Regions from separate parts of the Homo sapiens genome. Here regions 2, 3 and 4 are each linked to region 1. The links are contacts of gene promoters, found by promoter capture Hi-C in blood cells and fetal thymus (Javierre and others, 2016). All regions are on one chromosome and are shown on one strand. The core of a region is centred on a gene start or on the middle of the fragment in contact, and the rest is flanking DNA. Distances in the headings are between cores, read along the strand shown.

What was found. Contacts are between HindIII fragments. The CHiCAGO score rates a contact against its expected background, and 5 or more counts as called.
Region 2: a contact is called between the fragment with the promoter of FFAR3 here and the fragment with the promoter of HPN in region 1, in 13 of 17 cell types (naive B cells, naive CD8 T cells, non-activated CD4 T cells and 10 more). The highest score is 14.3, in naive B cells.
Region 3: a contact is called between a fragment that was not itself captured here and the fragment with the promoter of HPN in region 1, in 3 of 17 cell types (total B cells, naive CD4 T cells and naive B cells). The highest score is 7.6, in total B cells.
Region 4: a fragment that was not itself captured here is called in contact with the fragment with the promoter of HPN in region 1 in 3 of 17 cell types (total CD8 T cells, naive CD8 T cells and naive CD4 T cells); the score reaches 6.5 in total CD8 T cells.

The regions. Positions count from the first base shown.
Region 1 is chr19:35,040,471-35,045,065 of GRCh38, forward strand. It overlaps HPN (hepsin), which reads left to right and starts at 1,251. Exons shown (of 13, transcript NM_001384133.1): 1 at 1,251-1,402; 2 at 1,983-2,052. The coding sequence starts at 2,037. RefSeq lists an enhancer at 1-722. The HindIII fragment of the contact is 15,827 bases long and covers 1-4,595 here.
Region 2 is chr19:35,356,755-35,361,771 of GRCh38, forward strand. FFAR3 (free fatty acid receptor 3) reads left to right here and starts at 1,706. Exons shown (of 2, transcript NM_005304.5): 1 at 1,706-1,895; 2 at 2,126-3,735. The coding sequence starts at 2,137. The coding sequence ends at 3,177. RefSeq lists an enhancer at 3,027-3,554. The HindIII fragment of the contact is 8,969 bases long and covers 1-5,017 here.
Region 3 is chr19:35,440,589-35,445,596 of GRCh38, forward strand. No RefSeq gene overlaps it. Among named protein-coding and RNA genes, the nearest start is that of FFAR2, 5.2 kb to the right of the region's middle. RefSeq lists an enhancer at 1,694-1,903. The HindIII fragment of the contact is 3,169 bases long and covers 2,156-5,008 here.
Region 4 is chr19:35,332,337-35,336,664 of GRCh38, forward strand. CD22 (CD22 molecule) reads left to right here. Exons shown (of 14, transcript NM_001771.4): 3 at 211-588; 4 at 3,700-4,005. Among named protein-coding and RNA genes, the nearest start is that of CD22, 5.3 kb to the left of the region's middle. RefSeq lists a silencer at 969-1,178. The HindIII fragment of the contact is 4,678 bases long and covers 339-4,328 here.

The DNA of each region.
Region 1 (4,595 bases), core at 1-2,500:
CCCGTCACCTTCCCCCCATTCCCGTCCCCGAATCTTCGAGCCCGCTTTCCAGGGACCCTACCTGAGGGCCCACAGGTGAAGCCACTTAGTGCCTGATCTGTGTCGGGGTTGGGGGAGCCATGGGCTCAGGGGTGAGGGAGAGTGGAACGGAGCCAGGAAGGGAGGGGGTGCCGTGGAGGGAAGAGAATCGAGGCTGATGCTGGGGTGCAGGGGTGGCATGGGGTGTGTGGTGTGCCCAGCAGTGTGAGTCTCTGGAGAGGTGGGCGCTGGGGAGAAGGAGAGGGAAGGAGAGACGGGTATGGATGGAAAGGCAGAGGAAGCCAGGCTAAACCAGCGTGTCCCAATGAGGGGCCCTGGGCTGAGTGGAGGAAATGGGTGCGGTGGAGGTGGGTTTGGCTGGGCACAGCGGGCACGTGTGGGTAAGCGGGTGGGGCCGGTTGTGCGGGTGGCCTATCTGGGGCAAGCAGCCGAGGCCGACTGTGTCCGGCGTGTGGTTGAGCACGGGCAGGTGTCTGGCGGTGACCCTGCACGTCTGGTGTTTACCTGGCCCTGGGTCTGACGTGGGCCGCGCCTGGCTGCTGGCGGGACAGTGTGTTATCTGCCTGCGGACGCTTCCGGCCACTTGGCCTGGGCCTCTGCCCTTAGCGCTGTGTTTTCCCGGCCAAGCCCCCCATCCCCCCTATCTAGTGCTAGGACTTTCTGGCTCCAGAGGTCACCGCGGCCGGGCGGAGGCTGCCAAAGCAAACCAGCCCCGTGACTTGTAGGAAGCCAGCGGGGGAGGGGCCGGGGCAGGATGAGCAGGGCAGGCGGGAGAGGCTGGGGCTGGGGTTGGGGCCCAGGAATTGGGCAGGGAATTAGGCAGAGGTGCAGCAAGTGGCGGGCACAGCCAGGACCTGGGGCTGGAGGACGCAGAAAGGGCGGGGGGAAGGGTTCGCTGGGTGAGGGTGGAGTGGGCTTAGGGCAGCTGGGGCCCTCCATCTGATCTCTTCTGGTCAGACCCCCACCCTTCAGCCTGCACTTTCTCCCTAAACCCCCAGCCTCCGGCCAGGCCTGTCCCTGTTCCCACATCCCCGCAGACAGGCACACCTGGGTCCCCCTGGAGGTCCAAGGCAAGCCCCGTAGCTGGGCCCGCCTGGTCCAGCCCCCACAAGCCCGGCCCCATCAGCCAGGTGGCCTCCAGTGCTGCCAATCGAATGGTCCGGCCCCTCCCCGCCCCTTCACCCGCCCCTCGCCCAGCCCCCTCCTCCTCAGGTGAGGCAGCCTGGCCTAGCAGGCCCCACGCCACCGCCTCTGCCTCCAGGCCGCCCGCTGCTGCGGGGCCACCATGCTCCTGCCCAGGCCTGGAGACTGACCCGACCCCGGCACTACCTCGAGGCTCCGCCCCCACCTGCTGGACCCCAGGGTAAGGACAAGGGCCCCCAGACTCACAGTTCCAGCCCTGAGGACAGGGGTTCCCTCATCCCCCCACCCAGCCTAATGCCCACCTCCTAATAGAGGGGTTCCTGGGGACCTGAAGAGGGGGCACTATGACGTCCCCCCAAGCACCTAGGTGTTCTGTCCTGCTCTTCCTTCAGACTCAGCCGTTGGACCCCAGTCCTTTCCTCCCCAGACCCAGGAGTTCCAGCCCTCAGGCCCCTCCTCCCTCATACTAGGGAGTCCTGGCCCCCAAATTCCTCCTTTCCCAAGACTTATGATTTCAGGTCCTCAGCTGTCTCCTCCCTCAAACCGGGATCCTCAGTCCCCTGCTCCACCAGGCTCAGGCATGGGGGTCCCCATCCCTGCAAATCCAGGCGTCCCCCCGCTGCTGGTCAGACACTGACCCCATCCTTGAACCCAGCCCAATCTGCGTCCGTGATCACGGCGTGCTCTGGCCAAGGCCCAGTCCCTACAGCCTGCCTGGATGGACGCCTGGGACTGGGGGCGCCAGGACTGGGCTGGGCTGGGCTCCCCCAGGCCCTGCCTCCCCGTCCATCTCCTCACAGGTCCCACCCTGGCCCAGGAGGTCAGCCAGGGAATCATTAACAAGAGGCAGTGACATGGCGCAGAAGGAGGGTGAGTCCCCTTCCCTGAGCCCCAGCTTTGGCTCTGCCTGGCGCCCCGCCCTCTGTGCTCTTTTCTCTACCCTCTACTCTTCGGAGCCCCCTCTCTCTGGGCACCCCTCCCAGATGCATCCCCACCCCTGTTAGTCCTCCTCCACCTGATTAACTATTAACCACATTTTCTGTGCAGCTGTGCCACCACCAGCCTCCCTTCTACCCTATGTGACCTTCCTGGCGTGCTGCCTCAGTTTCCCCTCATCCCCCAGTGATTTCTCAGCTAACTCTGGACTTGTCCTCTGCTGGGGCTGAGGCGGGGAAGCTGTAGCTGTCATGGTTAAGGACACAGATTTGGAGTGAAACACACAGGCTTGCATTTGAATTTGCTCTTGCCATCTTTTTTGCTGTGTGATCTGGTGCAAGTGACATTATTCTTAGGGCTTTGGTCTCCCTCTGGGTCAAGCATGGATACCAGTCCTCCCTCTGTGAGGTTGCTGAGTGCATGACACACACCAGGCACTGGTCTGGGGCTCTGCATATAAGACGCATGCCATCAAGCAGAGCTGTCATGACAGAGGTTGGCAAACTCGGAGTCCCAGAGACCCAGGACCCCCACCGATCCCAGACATTCCTCCACCTCCTGGCTCTGTGGGCAAAAGAGCAGAGGGAGGACTTTGGACTGGGCCTGGATGGATGGAGAGGGGAGAGACGGCAGAGAAACCACCATAAGGATGAGAGAGAGAGACTGCGTCATGGAGTTGCTGGCCCTTGGGAGTCTCTGGGCAGCCCCCAGCTAGCCTGGCTTCCTTTCTACCTCTCACACATGGGACCCAGCTGGAGGGGCGCATGGAGGGGCGTCCTGTTCTTTCTGCCTTCCCCTAGCTGGGGCTGACTCCCTCTCTTCTTCCGCAACCAGGATAGCCGGGCTCAGTCCTGGGCAGTAGCACTTTCTAGCTGTGTGGCCCTGGGCAGACGGCGTGTTCTCCCTGGGCCTCCATTCTCTCATCTGTGAAATGGAGAGGGTGACAGTGCATGTCCAACAGCGTGGGGCGAGGCCTGAAATGCCAGGATGGGCAGGAAGCACTGAGCGTGTTGGCTGAAATGATTAGTTCAGATCTCTGGCCTCCTCGGGTCTCGGCACAGCTGGCAATTCAGACCCCAAACCAATCAGCTGCAGTCCAGAGGGAACCCAGGCTCCCAGTTACTCAGGAGAAGGCATTGCACCCTAGCCGAGCAGGTGGATGACAGAATCCAGCTCCTTGGGGACAATCTCTTTCCTGGAGCTGCCGGAAGGACAGCCCCAGGGCTTGGGCCCATGGGTGAATGAGCCAGGGAAGAAAAGCAGAAAATGCCCGAATGGACAGAGATGGCCTGGGTACAAAGAGAAACAGACACAAAGTGGGCTCTGGTGCCTCCCTGGCAGCTCCGGGCTGGTCTTGGAGGGGAGTCCTGCTGTCAGGGCTAGGGGTGTGGAGGTCGAACCTGGACACAGATGCTGAAGGGTTCCGATTCTGCACTTACTTGCCGGGTGACCCGGGTTTGGTGGCTGCCGGACTTTGGGCCTCCTTTTCTCATCTGTAAACTGGGGGTGATGGCAATGGCGCCTTCCTCGTGAACAGCTGCAAGGATTTAAGTAAGGATGCTGTGCAGGACTGGACGGGGTTAGGGTAGGGCGGTGCGTCCGTGTGTGATTCAGAGAGCCGTTGTGGCTGCAGCGGCTGCTGTTGTTGGTGTCACTGTTATTGCTGCTGGCTTCTTGGTGCTGCCTGGAAACTTGGAATTGGAGGAGGTGATACTGGAGTTGCAATTCCAAGGATGCCAGGCAGAGGGAAGAGCAAGGCTCTTGCTCTTCTCTGGGAAGCTGGGAGGTGACACAGCACTGGTGTGCACGTAGCCAATTGTGGTATTTCTGGAGGTGAAGCTGGAAGTTGAGCTGGGTGGGAGAAGAGGTGTGCAAGCTGGACCAGGCAGGGGTGGGACTGTTTTGGGGAAGAGCTGGCCAATTCCTTGCAGTACCAGGTCTCTCCACAAGGTGGCGCCAGTGGTTAGTCCCTGCTTCTCTTGTCTAACTTGTATTTTACAAGTTCTACTGTTTGGGTTGCTTTTTGGAAGCTCTCTCTGGTACCTGATAGTGACCCACATGGTTGTCTGAGAATTGGGGGAAACATACTCCCAAATCTCTGAAAGCCATGCTTATACCCTAGTGGGGCTGGAAATGCCAGGCTGAGGGACTTAAGCTGTCTGGGGGGTACTAGGGAGTCACAGAGGGTTCTATAGGTAAAGAGGGGACAGGTTGGATTTGGTGTCTCAGTAGGTTCCCCAAGCCTCCGTGTGGAGGGTGCGCTAGAAGGGAGACTGAGCCCAGCGGTTGGATGGGGCCGGAGCAAGGTGCAGATGGAGAGAAAGAAGGAAACGGGGGAAGGAGAGTCACTCAGGAGGATTGGCAGGCTGTCGGGGGAGGGGAATGTTATGCAGATGGGGATGGTCCTAGGAGTGAGGGCCTCTGAGACAGGACCGGGAGGAAGAATATACTTGGGGAGACATTGGGGAGACATTCTG
Region 2 (5,017 bases), core at 456-2,955, 320 kb after region 1:
ACAATTCAATGATTTTTAGTAAATTTACTGAGGTGTGAGTCCATTACCATCAGCTAGTTTTAGAACATTTTCATGACCCTAGTAAAGGATTTTACTTCATGTTCATTTAAACTTAATCTTGGGCCAGGCGGGGTGGCTCACGCCTATAATCTCAGCATTTTGGGAGGCTGGGGTGGACGGATCACCTGAGGTCAGTAGTTCGAGACCAGCCTGGCCAACATGGCGAAACCTCATCTCTACTAAACATACAAAAATTAGCCAGGCGTGGTGGCGGGCACCTGTAATCCTAGCTACTTAGGAAGCTGAGGCATGAGAATTTCTTGAACCCGGGAGGCAGAGTTTGCAGTGAGCCAAGATTGCACCATTGCACTCCAGCCTGGGCGACAACAAGACCCTGTCTCAAAAAAAAAAAAAAAAAAAAAAAAACAACTTAATCTTCATTTCTACCTCCATCCCCCAGACAACCACGAGTCTACTTTCTGACTCTATAACTTTGCCTATTCTGGACATATCATATAAATAAATGAAATCTGACAATATATGTACATGGTCTTTTACGTCTGGCTTGTTTCACTCAACATAAGGCTGTAGTGTGTATGGGTAGCTCATTCCTTTTCTTTGCCAAATAGAATTCCAGTATATGGATGTGCCACTTTTTTATTCACTCACCAGCTGATGGGCTGCCAGGTAACATTTCCACTGTTGGTGACTATGACCAACACTGCTGTGAACATTTAGGACTGAGTCTTTAAGTAGACCTGAGTTTCCACTTCTCTTAAGTAAATACCTACGGTGGAATTGTTGGATCGCATGGTGAATTTATGTTTAACTTTTTAAGCAACTGCCACCTGCTTTCCAAAGCAGGGACACCACCTCCCATTATTCTCACCAGCAGTGAATGAGGCCCCTATCTCTCTACATTCTCGCCGACCATAGGCATTGTCTGACTTTTTGCTTGTGGCCATTCTAGTGGATGTGAAATCATATCTCATTGTGCCCTGTGATTGTTTGAATGAACTAATAGATCACCTGTGAAACTGGACAGCACTTGGGTTTGAACCCTAGTGGTGACATTTCACAAGCTGTATCACCTGGAGCAAGTCACTTCCCTACGGTGAAGGACAAGGATTTTATGACATAAAAGCGTTGCCCTAGAAGCAGTGTCTGCTATGGATTATGTGCCCATGAAAAGGCAGCTGCTGTCATCATCGCCACCACCATTATTATTGTTATTATTATTACATTGTCACCCCAGAGATAATCCTGCACCAGTGACAGGGAAAATAGCAGCTGGCATCCGCTGCCTGCTCACGACCACACGCCAGGCTTCCGTCAAACCACTCAACATGTATTAGTAATCTTTTAATCGACCTACATATTGTTTTAATTTGCATGTGTTAATGCGTTGATCTATGAGATGGGTATTATGATGAGCTCTGTTCTGCAGGGGAGAAAGCAGAAACATGGAGAATTTAAGTCATTTCCCCCAAATCACAAAGTCAGGAAGAAACAGACCTCACGGAGCTCGCTCTCTGTCATTGCATCACACTTCCTGCCCTTACAAGGCAAATTGGATAAATGCCATTCTAGAGAAGCAGACAAAATTCAAGTGAAGAAGGGGAGAGGAAGACGTCGGCTGGGGCCTGCTTAGAGCATCCCAGCTGAGACTGCATGAGGAGGGAGGCACGCAGTTGTGGAATTTGTTCCCCTTTTAGCATGCTGACCAGCCCTGGCAACGGAGCTCAAGGCATCTATGTGCCACTGCTCAACAGTGAGTGACGTCATGGGCACGGCCAGGTCTTTATCAGTTCTGCCGGATAAATAGCCAACTGCACTAGGTCTGGAGAGACAGCAAGGTGCTGTGCGGCAGAGCATTTGGGGTCTCAAAGAAGCAGGTGAGCCTGGGCCCGAGGGGCTGGGTGGAGGAGCACCTTGGTGCTTCTCTGCTGGGGAAGGGACAGGGGACAGGGCATGCTCAGGAAGACAGGCAGGCTGACCCCGCCTGGAAGGCACCCAGAGACAAGAGGGGTGGGCGTAGTGACCTCGTGCCCTTTTAGGGGAGATGCTGCTGGCCAGAGGCCGTTAGGGCCCCCACTACCAACTCCATGTTACTCTCTCTCACCAGTGGCCACCACCATGGATACAGGCCCCGACCAGTCCTACTTCTCCGGCAATCACTGGTTCGTCTTCTCGGTGTACCTTCTCACTTTCCTGGTGGGGCTCCCCCTCAACCTGCTGGCCCTGGTGGTCTTCGTGGGCAAGCTGCAGCGCCGCCCGGTGGCCGTGGACGTGCTCCTGCTCAACCTGACCGCCTCGGACCTGCTCCTGCTGCTGTTCCTGCCTTTCCGCATGGTGGAGGCAGCCAATGGCATGCACTGGCCCCTGCCCTTCATCCTCTGCCCACTCTCTGGATTCATCTTCTTCACCACCATCTATCTCACCGCCCTCTTCCTGGCAGCTGTGAGCATTGAACGCTTCCTGAGTGTGGCCCACCCACTGTGGTACAAGACCCGGCCGAGGCTGGGGCAGGCAGGTCTGGTGAGTGTGGCCTGCTGGCTGTTGGCCTCTGCTCACTGCAGCGTGGTCTACGTCATAGAATTCTCAGGGGACATCTCCCACAGCCAGGGCACCAATGGGACCTGCTACCTGGAGTTCCGGAAGGACCAGCTAGCCATCCTCCTGCCCGTGCGGCTGGAGATGGCTGTGGTCCTCTTTGTGGTCCCGCTGATCATCACCAGCTACTGCTACAGCCGCCTGGTGTGGATCCTCGGCAGAGGGGGCAGCCACCGCCGGCAGAGGAGGGTGGCGGGGCTGTTGGCGGCCACGCTGCTCAACTTCCTTGTCTGCTTTGGGCCCTACAACGTGTCCCATGTCGTGGGCTATATCTGCGGTGAAAGCCCGGCGTGGAGGATCTACGTGACGCTTCTCAGCACCCTGAACTCCTGTGTCGACCCCTTTGTCTACTACTTCTCCTCCTCCGGGTTCCAAGCCGACTTTCATGAGCTGCTGAGGAGGTTGTGTGGGCTCTGGGGCCAGTGGCAGCAGGAGAGCAGCATGGAGCTGAAGGAGCAGAAGGGAGGGGAGGAGCAGAGAGCGGACCGACCAGCTGAAAGAAAGACCAGTGAACACTCACAGGGCTGTGGAACTGGTGGCCAGGTGGCCTGTGCTGAAAGCTAGGTCCTCCGGGGGAGGAGGGTGTAGCTGGCATGTCATCCTCAGGGCGCTTCCTCGCTCACGCCAGGAGGGACTTGGAGTGGCGAGCTGGGGCCCGATGGGGCTTGGGGGCAGAGTAGACATCTAGCCTCCCTAAGGGTATGCGCGCTAAAGCCCAGCTCTCGATCTCACCTCCATCCCCATCCACCCACACACTATGGATTGGGCTCTGGGAAGGGGTCAGGGTGAGAGGCTGCTCTGGAGAACAATGAGGTCCTCATAGCAGCAGGCAGCTCCTGTGTTTTCTTGAGGGTGGCAGAGGAGCTAAGAGCAGTGCCCAGGGTCTGAGGGGGCTGCCCAGTGAGTGGCAGGGGCAGGAGAGGGGAGAACCCCATCCTCAGAGCTGCTCCCAGCCAGCGAGTCAGGAGCGGGGGAGACAGGGCTCCAGGGATGAGGCCGCATTCTGCTCCCACAGCGCCTTTTCCAGAAAGTTCCCATTGCTCAATAAATGTGGATCATCAGAGACATTTATGAACAATGACAGAAGAAAAATTACCCAAATAAATGTGGAAGCAAGCAAAAGAGAACAGTGTTTCCTTCTTCTCCTGTTTTGTTCTGGTGGTGTGCTTGGGCCGGGTGGGACTGGTGGATGGAAGGAGAAAACACCAGACTCTGGAGGAAAAGGGCCAAACACCAGGATGCCTGGATGCTGGGAGAGGATCTGGCTTGCAGGGATGAAAATAACAGCTGCCCTGTCTAAAGGACTTGGCCTGACACATCATCTCCTTCTATCTCTCAATAGCCCTGTGAGAGGTACCAGCATTATCCCCAGTTTCAGATGAAGGAGTGGCCCAGAGAGGTGACACCTCCTACCTGAGATCCCATAGCTGGTGGGCGATTGAAGTGGGACCAGAAGCTGGTGTCAGTTGACTCTGACACCCATGCCCCTAAGCCACTCTGCTGTTCTCCATCTGTGTGTCACCTGTGGTCACCTGGCCCAGTCAAATGTCCCAAGTCAGATAAGTCTGTCTGAGCAGGACAAATATAAACAGGCCATGATAAGAAACAGAACTAAATGCAAAGCGTATTGACTATTTGTGTGGGTTCAACCTTTTCCCAGTAAAAAAGCCCTCTTGGAAAAAAAGAAAAAAAGATAATTAGTCAGCACAATGGACTTCAGGTTTCTGCAAAGTCAGAGAGATGTTCCTCAGAGCTCTATTCATCAAAATATGGCCATTCAGGAAGTTTTCATGTTCCCTGAGTGGTGGCCCATGAGAAATAGCTGGTCAGGACCTCCTCCCCAAGCAAGGCCACCTGAGACTCGCCAGCCCCTGTTTGCATGCTGTCAGCAGTATTTCAGAAGCATTTGTTGAACACCTATTGCATGCAGATGGCTGGGCTCAGAACTTCGGGGAGTTCGACACTAAGGTCTTTAAATATCTGCTTCCTCCCTGGGGTTAAGTGTGCCGGGAGAATGAAGACTGGCTGTGTGTGGGGAAGTGGATTTCAGGTGGAAGGAGAGGGACTCTGTGGAGAGTTGAAACCATGAGCTGTCTCTCTGTCCCACGGCTCACCTGTCCATCCCCAGGGCACTCAGCCCTGGTGGCTGCAAAGAAGTTGATGCAGGTAGGGGTGTTCATGGCTCAGAAAGGGGACAAAGGTGCCATGGAATCCTGCAACTTCAGAATGGGCACCGCCACCCCAAGGCAGAGAACAGAAAAACTGAAAACCTCACAGTCGAAAGAGAGCCATGAAGAGCTGGAGTCTCCCTCCTCCCCCAGGTTTATAAGAGGGAATAAGAGGCAGCTTCATGGGCTTTGCTGTCCCCAGCTATCTCCCAGCCCAGCCCAGTCTGTATAAGCAA
Region 3 (5,008 bases), core at 2,490-4,989, 400 kb after region 1:
CACACCTGTAATCCCAGCACTTTGGGAAGCCAAGGTGAGAGTATGGCTTGAGGCCAGGAGTTTGAGACCAGCCTGGGCAACATAACAAGACCCCATCTCTACCAAAAATAAAAATAATAAAAACATTTAGAAATAATAATAATAAAACAAAGTTACATATCTCAAATCCTAAGTGATCCTCTCTGCCCCGGGTGCACATTCTCCCTTATCCATGCCATCCTCAATCCCCTCAACCCCTGGCGACTGCAACACCCTCCTAGCGGATCCCTCTGCTTCCAGTTCTGTCCTTCTAGGGAGCATTCTTCACACAGTAGCAGGCTTGATCTTCTAGAATCATATATCACATCACATCATTCCCCTCTTATGGCCCTAAGTGACTTCCCACTGCTCAAAAATGGAGTCTTAAGGCCGGGTGCAGTGGCTCACACCTGTAATCCCAGCATTTGGGAGGCTGGCAATTGTTTCATTCATTCATTCATTTAACAAATATATATCCACCCCCCAGGATGTGCCAGGATCTGTGCCAAGCATTAGAAATATCATGGTTGAAAAATACAGATGGGTCCAGGCGCAGAGGCTGACGCCTGTAATCCCAGCATTTTGGGAGGCCGAGGCAGGCGGTTCACCTGAGGTCAGGAGTTCAAGACCAGCCTGGCCAACATGGTGAAACCCCGTCTCTACTAAAAATACAAAAATTAGCAGGGCATGGTGACAGACACCTGTAATCCCAGCTACTCAAGAGGCTGAGACGGGAAAATCAATTAAACCCAGGAGGCAGAGGTTGCAATGAGCCAAGATCACGCCACTATGCTCCAGCCTGGATGACAGAGCAAGACTCCGTCTCAAAAAAAAAAAAAAAGGTATATAGCCTGGATCATCAGTGCTGACCATGAGGAAAAAGGTCCTGTGGCTTTTGCTGCAAGTCCCTTAAACCACAAGACAGCTCTCAAGTGATTACACGTCCAGGATGTCTTAACAGGTCCCAGAAAAAGATAAATGAGGCATCTGAGGACAAGCGTCCTCTGAGTTTTTGAAATGGACTTATCTCCATTCTGAAGTCACTCTCATCCATCTATCCTCCACTGTCATCCAGGAAATAGTTACTAAGGGCCTAACATGTTCCAGGCTGCACGCCAGGTCCTGAGGATGCAATGGTGAGCAAAGCAGCTGTGTTCCCTGCTTTGTGGACAGTCTCATAAGGGGAGGTAGACTTCACATCCATCTTAATGCAAATCCTCATGCTAATGAACACATTATAATAAATTGAGACGTGGGACATAGGAAGGAATAGTAAAAGATGCTATGAGAGCAACCAACAATGAGAAAATAAACTCTAAAAAAATTAAATTTACAGCTGCCTCCAAAATATTTAGAATCATGCAAAACCTCTATGCTGACAACTAGAAAGCATTGCTGAGAGGAATTAAAGACCTAAATAAATGGAGAGAGATGTCCAGTGTCAATGATCCCAAATTGATCTATGGATTCAGTGTGAGCCCATTCAAAATTCCAGCAGGCTTTTCTGTAGAAATTGATTTTAATATTTATATGAACATGCAAATGACCCAGAATAGCCACAGCAAATTTAGAAAAGAAGAAGGAAGTTGGAGGACTTACTCTATTTCAAGACTTATTATGAAACCACAGTAATCAAGACTGTGTGCAGGCCGGGCACAGTGGTTCGTGCCTGTAATCCCAGCACTTCGGGAGGCCGGGGCACGTGGATCACTTGAGGTCAGGAGTTGAAGACTTGCCTGGCCAACATGGCGAAACCCTGTCTCTAATACAAATACAAAAATTAGCCGGGGGTGGTGGCAAGCATCTGTAATCCCAGCTACTCAGGAGGCTGAGACAGAAGAATTGCTGGAACCCAGGAGGAGGAGGGTTCAGTGAGCTGAGATCACGCCACAACACTGTAGCCTGGGAGACAGAGCAAGACTCCATCTAAAAATAAAAATTTTAAAAAATAATAAAAATAAATAAATTTTAAAAATACCGTGTGCAAATGATGAAAGGCAAGACACAGAGTCTCTCAGAAGAATAGAGCGTCCAGAAATAGTACCACACACACATACAACCAATGGGTTTTTAGTACAGGTGCCGCGGCAATTCAACAGGGAAAGGAAAATCTGGAATAATTGGATAAGGAGGTAAAAGCTTCTTAGGACATAAAAGCACAAACCATAGAAGAAAAACCAGATAAATTAGACCTTGTCAAAATGTAACACTTTTTTGCTTTTCAAGAGACAATTAAGAAAATGAAGACCAGGCACAGTGGCTCATGCCTGTAATCCCAGCACTTTGGGAGGCCGAGGTGGGCAGACTGCTTGAGCTCAGGAGGTCGATGCCAGCTTGGACAAAATGGCAAAACCTCATCAGTACAAAAAATAGAAAAATTAGTCAGGCATGGTGGCAGGTGCCTGCAGTCCCAGCTACTTGGAGGGCTGAGGCGGAAAGGTCACCTGAGCCTGGGAGGTCAAGGCTGCAATGAGCTGTGATGGAGCCACTGCACTCCAGCCTGGGCAACAAAGTGAAACTCTGTCTCAAAAAAAAAAAAAATTAAAAGAAGAGAAAAGTCACAGAATGGCAGAAAATATTGGTAATATATACATCTGACAAATGACTAGTACCAAGAATATAATAAAGAACTCTCAGAACTCAACTATATGAAAATAATCCAATTTTTCTTTTTTTTTTTTTTTTTTTTGAGACAGAGTTTCACTCTGTTGCCCAGGCTGGAGTGCAGTAGTATGATCTTGGCTCACTGCAACCTCTGCCTCCTGGGTTCAAGCGATCCTCCTGCCTCAGCCTCCCTAGTAGCTGGGATTACAGGCGCCCGCCACCACGCCCAGCTAAATTTTGTATTTTTAGTAGAGATGAGGTTTCACTATGTTGGCCAGGCTGGTCTGAAACTCCTGACCTCAAGCAATCCACCCACTTCAGCCTCCAAAAATGCTAGGATTACAGGTGTGAGCCACCATGCCCAGCCTAAAATTTTTTAAATGAGCAAAATATTTAAACAGACATTCCACGAAAGAAGATATACAAATGGCTCATAAGTACTTGAAAAAATGCTTAACACCAATAATCATCAAGAAAGTATAAATTAAGACCACAACAAAGGCCGGGTACGGTGGTCCACGCCTGTAATCCCAGCACTTTGGGCAGCTGAGGCGGGCAGATCACCTGAGGTCAGGAGTTCAAGACCAGTCTGGCCAACATGGCAAAACCCCATCTGTATTAAAAATACAAAAATTAGCCAGGTGTGGTGGCACGTGCCTGTAATCCCAGCTACTCAGGGGGCTGAGGCACGAGAATGGCTTGAACCCAGGAGGTGAAGTTTGCAGTGAGTGGAGATGGCGCCACTGCACTCCAGCCTGGGCGACAGATCGAGACTCTGTCTCACACACACACACAAAAATACCATGGCATACTTATTAGAATGCCCACAATTAAAAACTAACAATTGTCAAGTGTTGGTGAGGATGTGGAGCAACTGAAATGCTCGTAGGCTGCTGGTGGGAATGCAACATGGCACAGCTACTTTGGAAAACTGGTAGTTTCTTAAAAAGTTAATAAAACGTTTTACCATACCACCTGGCCAATACACTGCCAGGTATTTGCCCAACAGCACTGAAAACATTTCCACACAAGAATGTTCTTAACAGCTGTATTCATACTAGACAAAAACTTTTTAAAAAAAACCCAAACCAACCAAATATCCATCAACAGATGAATGGATAAATAAAATAGGAAATATCCTTAAAACAGAATACTATTCAGCAATAGAAAAGATGCTTAACCTGTAAGAGGGGAATCGAAATCTAGGAGGTCAGGGCCTTTTTTTTTTTTTTTTTTTTTTTTGAGACAGAGTCTTGCTCTGTCGCCCAGGCTGGAATGCAGTGGCGCAATCTTGGCTCACTGCAACCTCCGCCTCCTGGGTTCAAGTGATTCTCCTGCTTCAGCCTCCTGACTAGCTGGGATTACAGGCGTGCGCCACTATCCCGGCTAATTTTTGTATATTTAGTAGAGACGGGATTTCGCCATGTTGGCCAGGCTGGTCTCGAACTCCTTACCTCAGGTAATCCACCTGCCTCGGCCTCCCAAAGTGCTGGGATTACAGGTGTGAACCACTGTGCCCAGCCAGACAGGGATTTCTTAAGGAAGTAAATGGTTATCTGAAAGAAAGCTACAAATTAACTGTGAAAGTTGGAATGGGTAACAAGAAATAAAGACATACCAGGCAGGGGCTGGTTCAAGCTCCCCATGGCAGATGGAAAACATGACACATTCACAGAAGTGGAAAATGGCCCTGCCCAGACAGCAAAGAGAGAGAAGAGTGATGTGAGTGGAAGCTGGCAAGGGCCATGCTAGGCAGGCCTTTTTAAGGATGTTGATATTTCTCCTAAAAGCAGTGAGAAGTCTCTGAAAGGACAAGAAGGTCGTATAATTGGATTGACATTTTTAAAATGATTCCACTAATACAGTATGGAGAACTGACTGCCAGGGAAGCAGATGGATGAGAGGAAGTGAGTCAGGGCCCTGCTGAAATCCTGGTAGGGATGATGGCACTGAGATGGGATGATGGAGATGGAGACGGATGGATGGATTCATATTTGGAATCCATAAGTATTTGGGGAGTACATCAGACTGCATTCTAGGGATAAGGAAGAAGATAATATTGAGATTCACTTTAAGACTGACTCTAGTCAGGCTCAGTGGCTCACGCCTATAATCCCAGCACTTTGGGAGGCCAAGGCGGGCGAATCACTTGAGGTCAGGAGTTCGAGACCAGCCTGACCAACATGGTGAAACCCCGTTTCTACTAAAAATACAAAAATTAGCCGAGTGTGGTGGCACATGCCTGTAATCCCAGCTACTCGGGAGGCTGAGGCATGAGAATTGCTTGAATCTGGGAGGCAGAGGTGGCAGTGAGCCGAGACTATGTGCCACTGCACTCCAGCCTGGGCGACAGAGTGAGATTCAGTCTCGAAATTAAAAAGAAAAA
Region 4 (4,328 bases), core at 1,428-3,927, 290 kb after region 1:
TGCAGTGGCTCATGCCTGAAATCTCAGCACTTTGTGAGGCTGAGGTGGGAGGATCACTTGAGGTCAGGAGTTCAAGGCCAGCTTGGACAACATAGCAAGACCCCTATCTCTAAAAAGAATAAAAAATTAAACAAATTTTAAAATAAAAAATAACTTTTAAAAGAAGGCTCTCATGCCCCCTTAGTAATGCTTTCTGATCACTGTGGTGAGTTCTAGAATACTTGGCTTTCTCTGACTCAAGTAAATGGGTTTTTGAGCACCCTGAAACCCTCTACGCCTGGGAGGGGGCCTGCGTCTGGATCCCCTGCACCTACAGAGCCCTAGATGGTGACCTGGAAAGCTTCATCCTGTTCCACAATCCTGAGTATAACAAGAACACCTCGAAGTTTGATGGGACAAGACTCTATGAAAGCACAAAGGATGGGAAGGTTCCTTCTGAGCAGAAAAGGGTGCAATTCCTGGGAGACAAGAATAAGAACTGCACACTGAGTATCCACCCGGTGCACCTCAATGACAGTGGTCAGCTGGGGCTGAGGATGGAGTCCAAGACTGAGAAATGGATGGAACGAATACACCTCAATGTCTCTGGTAAGGCCTTCGGGGAGCGGGTCCTCTGCTCTGGGCAGGGGTGAGTGGGAGGCAGGAAATACCTGACTCCTGGCACAGAGCTCACAAACCGAGCTTCCTGCAGAGCTCAGGCAGGGGACGCCAGCGGATGACGATGGCGATGCAGCAGCACTAGACAGAGCTGCGGGACCTCGGATGTCCCATCTGACCCTCAGTTCCTGCCCCTCTGGGACCTGGATTCCAAAGTTATCGGATCTCCTGATCTTTCCCTCTTTCTTTCTCACCATGTATTTTTCAGCTTTTGTGACAAACTCGTGTTTGGCCTTAGTACTGGAACCATCCAAGCACCGCATTCCTTTAGTGGGGTGGGTCTGCATGTAACCAGCCTCAGCTCTCCCCCAGGCTGGACCGCCCCCTTCAGACATTGGGGTCTGAAGCTGCATCGCTCACCCCAAACTTAGGGCTGCTCAGAGCTCCCTATAGAGGAAACTGGGTGTGGAACGGAGTAACCACACTCCCTAGGGCAGAGGCCCCAGACCTGTGTTTGATGGGTCAAATCCACCCCTACATGTGCAGTGCCATAACTGAGCCTGTGTTATAAAAATCATAAAATGTTTGTTTTACTTTTTTTCCTCTTCTTTTCCCCTTCCCCTTCCTTTCCCTTTTTATGAGACAGGGTCTCGCACTGTCATCACCCAGGCTGGAGTGCAGTGGCGCGATCTCAGCTCACTGCAGCCTTGATCTCCCGGGTTCAAGCAATCCTCCCACCTCCAAAGTAGCTAGGATCACAGGTGCATGCCACCATGCCCAGCTAACTTTTTAATTTGTTGTAGAAATGGGTCTTGCTATGTTGCCAGGCTGGTCTTGAACTCCTGGCCTCAAGCAATCCTCCTGCTTCAACCTCTCAAAGCATTAGGATTACAGGCATGAGTCACCGCACCCGGCCTGATCTTCTGATTTTTCAAGAGACGATGGAAATCTAGATTTTCCAGTGAAATCTCCCAGCATGTTAATGTTCATGGCAAGTTCTCATGAGCTCTTCAAGGTCAGATGACACTGTTGTTGAACCCCAAAGGCCAGGTTTGAGCTCCCGATGCGTAGTCAGCCAAACACTGACACCTCAGTGCTTAGAAGCTGAGATAGGATTATTTAATTTAGCCAAAGCAAGGGGACAGAAGAGAGAAACTCTCAAATCTGACCTGACTTTGAGCGTTAGTGGGGGCTTTTATGAGTAAAGTAGGTGTGCAGGAGGTGACCTCCCGATCGTCAAAGCTGTTGTGCCCCTCGGCTCATCAAATTTCTGGATGTCATCAAGGAGGTCTGTGTGACCTAAGGATCATTGTTCTTTGAAAGAGAGACAAGTTCATTTATCTTGCAGGCAGCTGCCAGGGAGTCAGGATGTAAGTTAAACAATTATGAGTGAATTAATGGTTACCTGCTACTGAAATGACCAAATGTAACTAATCATGCATGGAGGAAGGAAAGGACAAAGAGAAAAGAAAAGAAGTAAAACGAACATCTTATAATTTTTATAACATAGGTTCAGTTATAGCACTGCACATGTAGGGGTGGCTTTGACCCATCAAACACAGGTGTGGGGGGCCCCTGCCACAGGGAGTGTGGTCACTCCGTTCCACACCGTTTCCCGGATGGGCAGTTCTGAGCAGCCTTAAATTTGGGGTGAGCAATGCAACTTCAGACCCCGCTGTCTGAAGGAGGTGGTCCAGCCTTGGGGAGAGCTGAGGCTGGGTGCACACAGACCCACTCCACTAAAGGAATGCGGTGCGTGGATGGCTGCAATACTGAAGGAAGCCATGAAAGTAACACAAGTTTGTCAAAGCTGAAAAGTCCGTGAACTAAACTGATAAAATTCACTTAGAGGTGGTGGGAATAGGCCGGGCACGGTGGCTCACGCCTGTAATCCCAGAACTTTGGGAGGCCGAGGCAGGCGGATCACAAGGTCAGGAGATCGAGACCATCCTGACTAACACAGTGAAACCCTGTCTCTACTAAAAATGCAAAAAGTTAGCCAGGCGTGGTGGCAGGCGCCTGTAGTCCCAGCTACTCAGGAGGCTGAGGCAGGAGAATGGCGTGAACCCGGAAGGTGGAGCTTGCAGTGAGCTGAGATCACGCCACTACACTCCAGTCCGGGCGACAGAGCGAGACTCTGTCTCAAAAAAAAAAAAAAAAAAAAAAGAGGTGGTGAGGTGGTGGGAATAGAACTTTGCAATCATTCAGAAAGCAGACATCCGGCAATGAGCATGAAAGAAAAGTAGATCACAGTTCCCAAGGAGGCTTAGTGTGGTCAAGGCCTTTCAGAGGGGATTTCGGGTGAGCAAAAGTGATTCAAAGTGGAGAAAAGCAGGACTGCGTTGGGTGCAGTGGTTCCCGCCTGTAACCCCAGCACTTTGGGAGGCTGAGATCGGAGGATCGTTTGAGCCCAGGAGTTTGAGACCAGCCTGGGTAACATGGCAAGACCCTGTCTCTACAAAATGTTTAAAAAACTAGCTAGGTGTGGTGGCACATGCCTGTAGTCCCAGTTACTCAGGGGGCTGAGGTGAGAGGATTGCTTGAGCCTAGGAGGTTGAGGCTACAGTGAGCTAGGATTGCGCCACTGCACTCCAGCCTGGGTGACAAAGCAAGACCCTGTCTCTAAAGAAAAAAAGAGGCCGGGTGTGGTGGCTTACACCTGTAATCCCAGCACTTTGGGAGGCCAAGGCGGGAGGATCACTTGAGGTCAGGAGTTCAAGACCAGCCTGGCCAACATGGCGAAACCCTGTCTCTACTAGAAATACAGAAAAATTAGCTGGGTGTGGTGGTGGGCACCTGTAATCCCAGCTACTCGGGAGGCTGAGGCAGGAGGATCACTTGAACTGGGGAGGTAGAGGTTACAGCGAGCCAAGATCGCGCCACTGCACTCCAGCCTGGGTGACAGAGGGAAACTCCATCTCAAAAAAACAACAACACAACAACAACAACAATAACAACAAAAAAACAAAGCAGGACTGGAGAGAGGTGGAATGAAGTGGCAAGGGGTTCCTGAGGGGTGATTTGGGACAGGACATCTAAAGCCAGGTGTACGCTCACGTCCTCAGTCCCCCAGGCTCCTGCACGGGCTCTGTTCTTTTGCAGAAAGGCCTTTTCCACCTCATATCCAGCTCCCTCCAGAAATTCAAGAGTCCCAGGAAGTCACTCTGACCTGCTTGCTGAATTTCTCCTGCTATGGGTATCCGATCCAATTGCAGTGGCTCCTAGAGGGGGTTCCAATGAGGCAGGCTGCTGTCACCTCGACCTCCTTGACCATCAAGTCTGTCTTCACCCGGAGCGAGCTCAAGTTCTCCCCACAGTGGAGTCACCATGGGAAGATTGTGACCTGCCAGCTTCAGGATGCAGATGGGAAGTTCCTCTCCAATGACACGGTGCAGCTGAACGTGAAGCGTGAGTCTCCCCGGCATGCCTGTGGGAAGGGCAAGGTCTGTGTCACCTTCTCCCCAGCCCCGCAGGGGGCATGCACCCAGGGCAGGGGGAAGCCTGCACAGACGGCGGCATCCTCCAGCCCTGGTCACGCCGCCTTGTCAGCCCTGGTGTTTCGGGAAAAAGATTTGCTCTAGCCTAACAGAATAAAATGGTCCATCCTCAAGCCATGACATGAATTGGGGATTATCTGGTTAGGTCTTTTTGTTCCCCTCTTGGTGGGGATTTTTTTCGCATCATTATCTTGTGCCTCATTCATTCAATAAATACGTATCATGAACCTACTA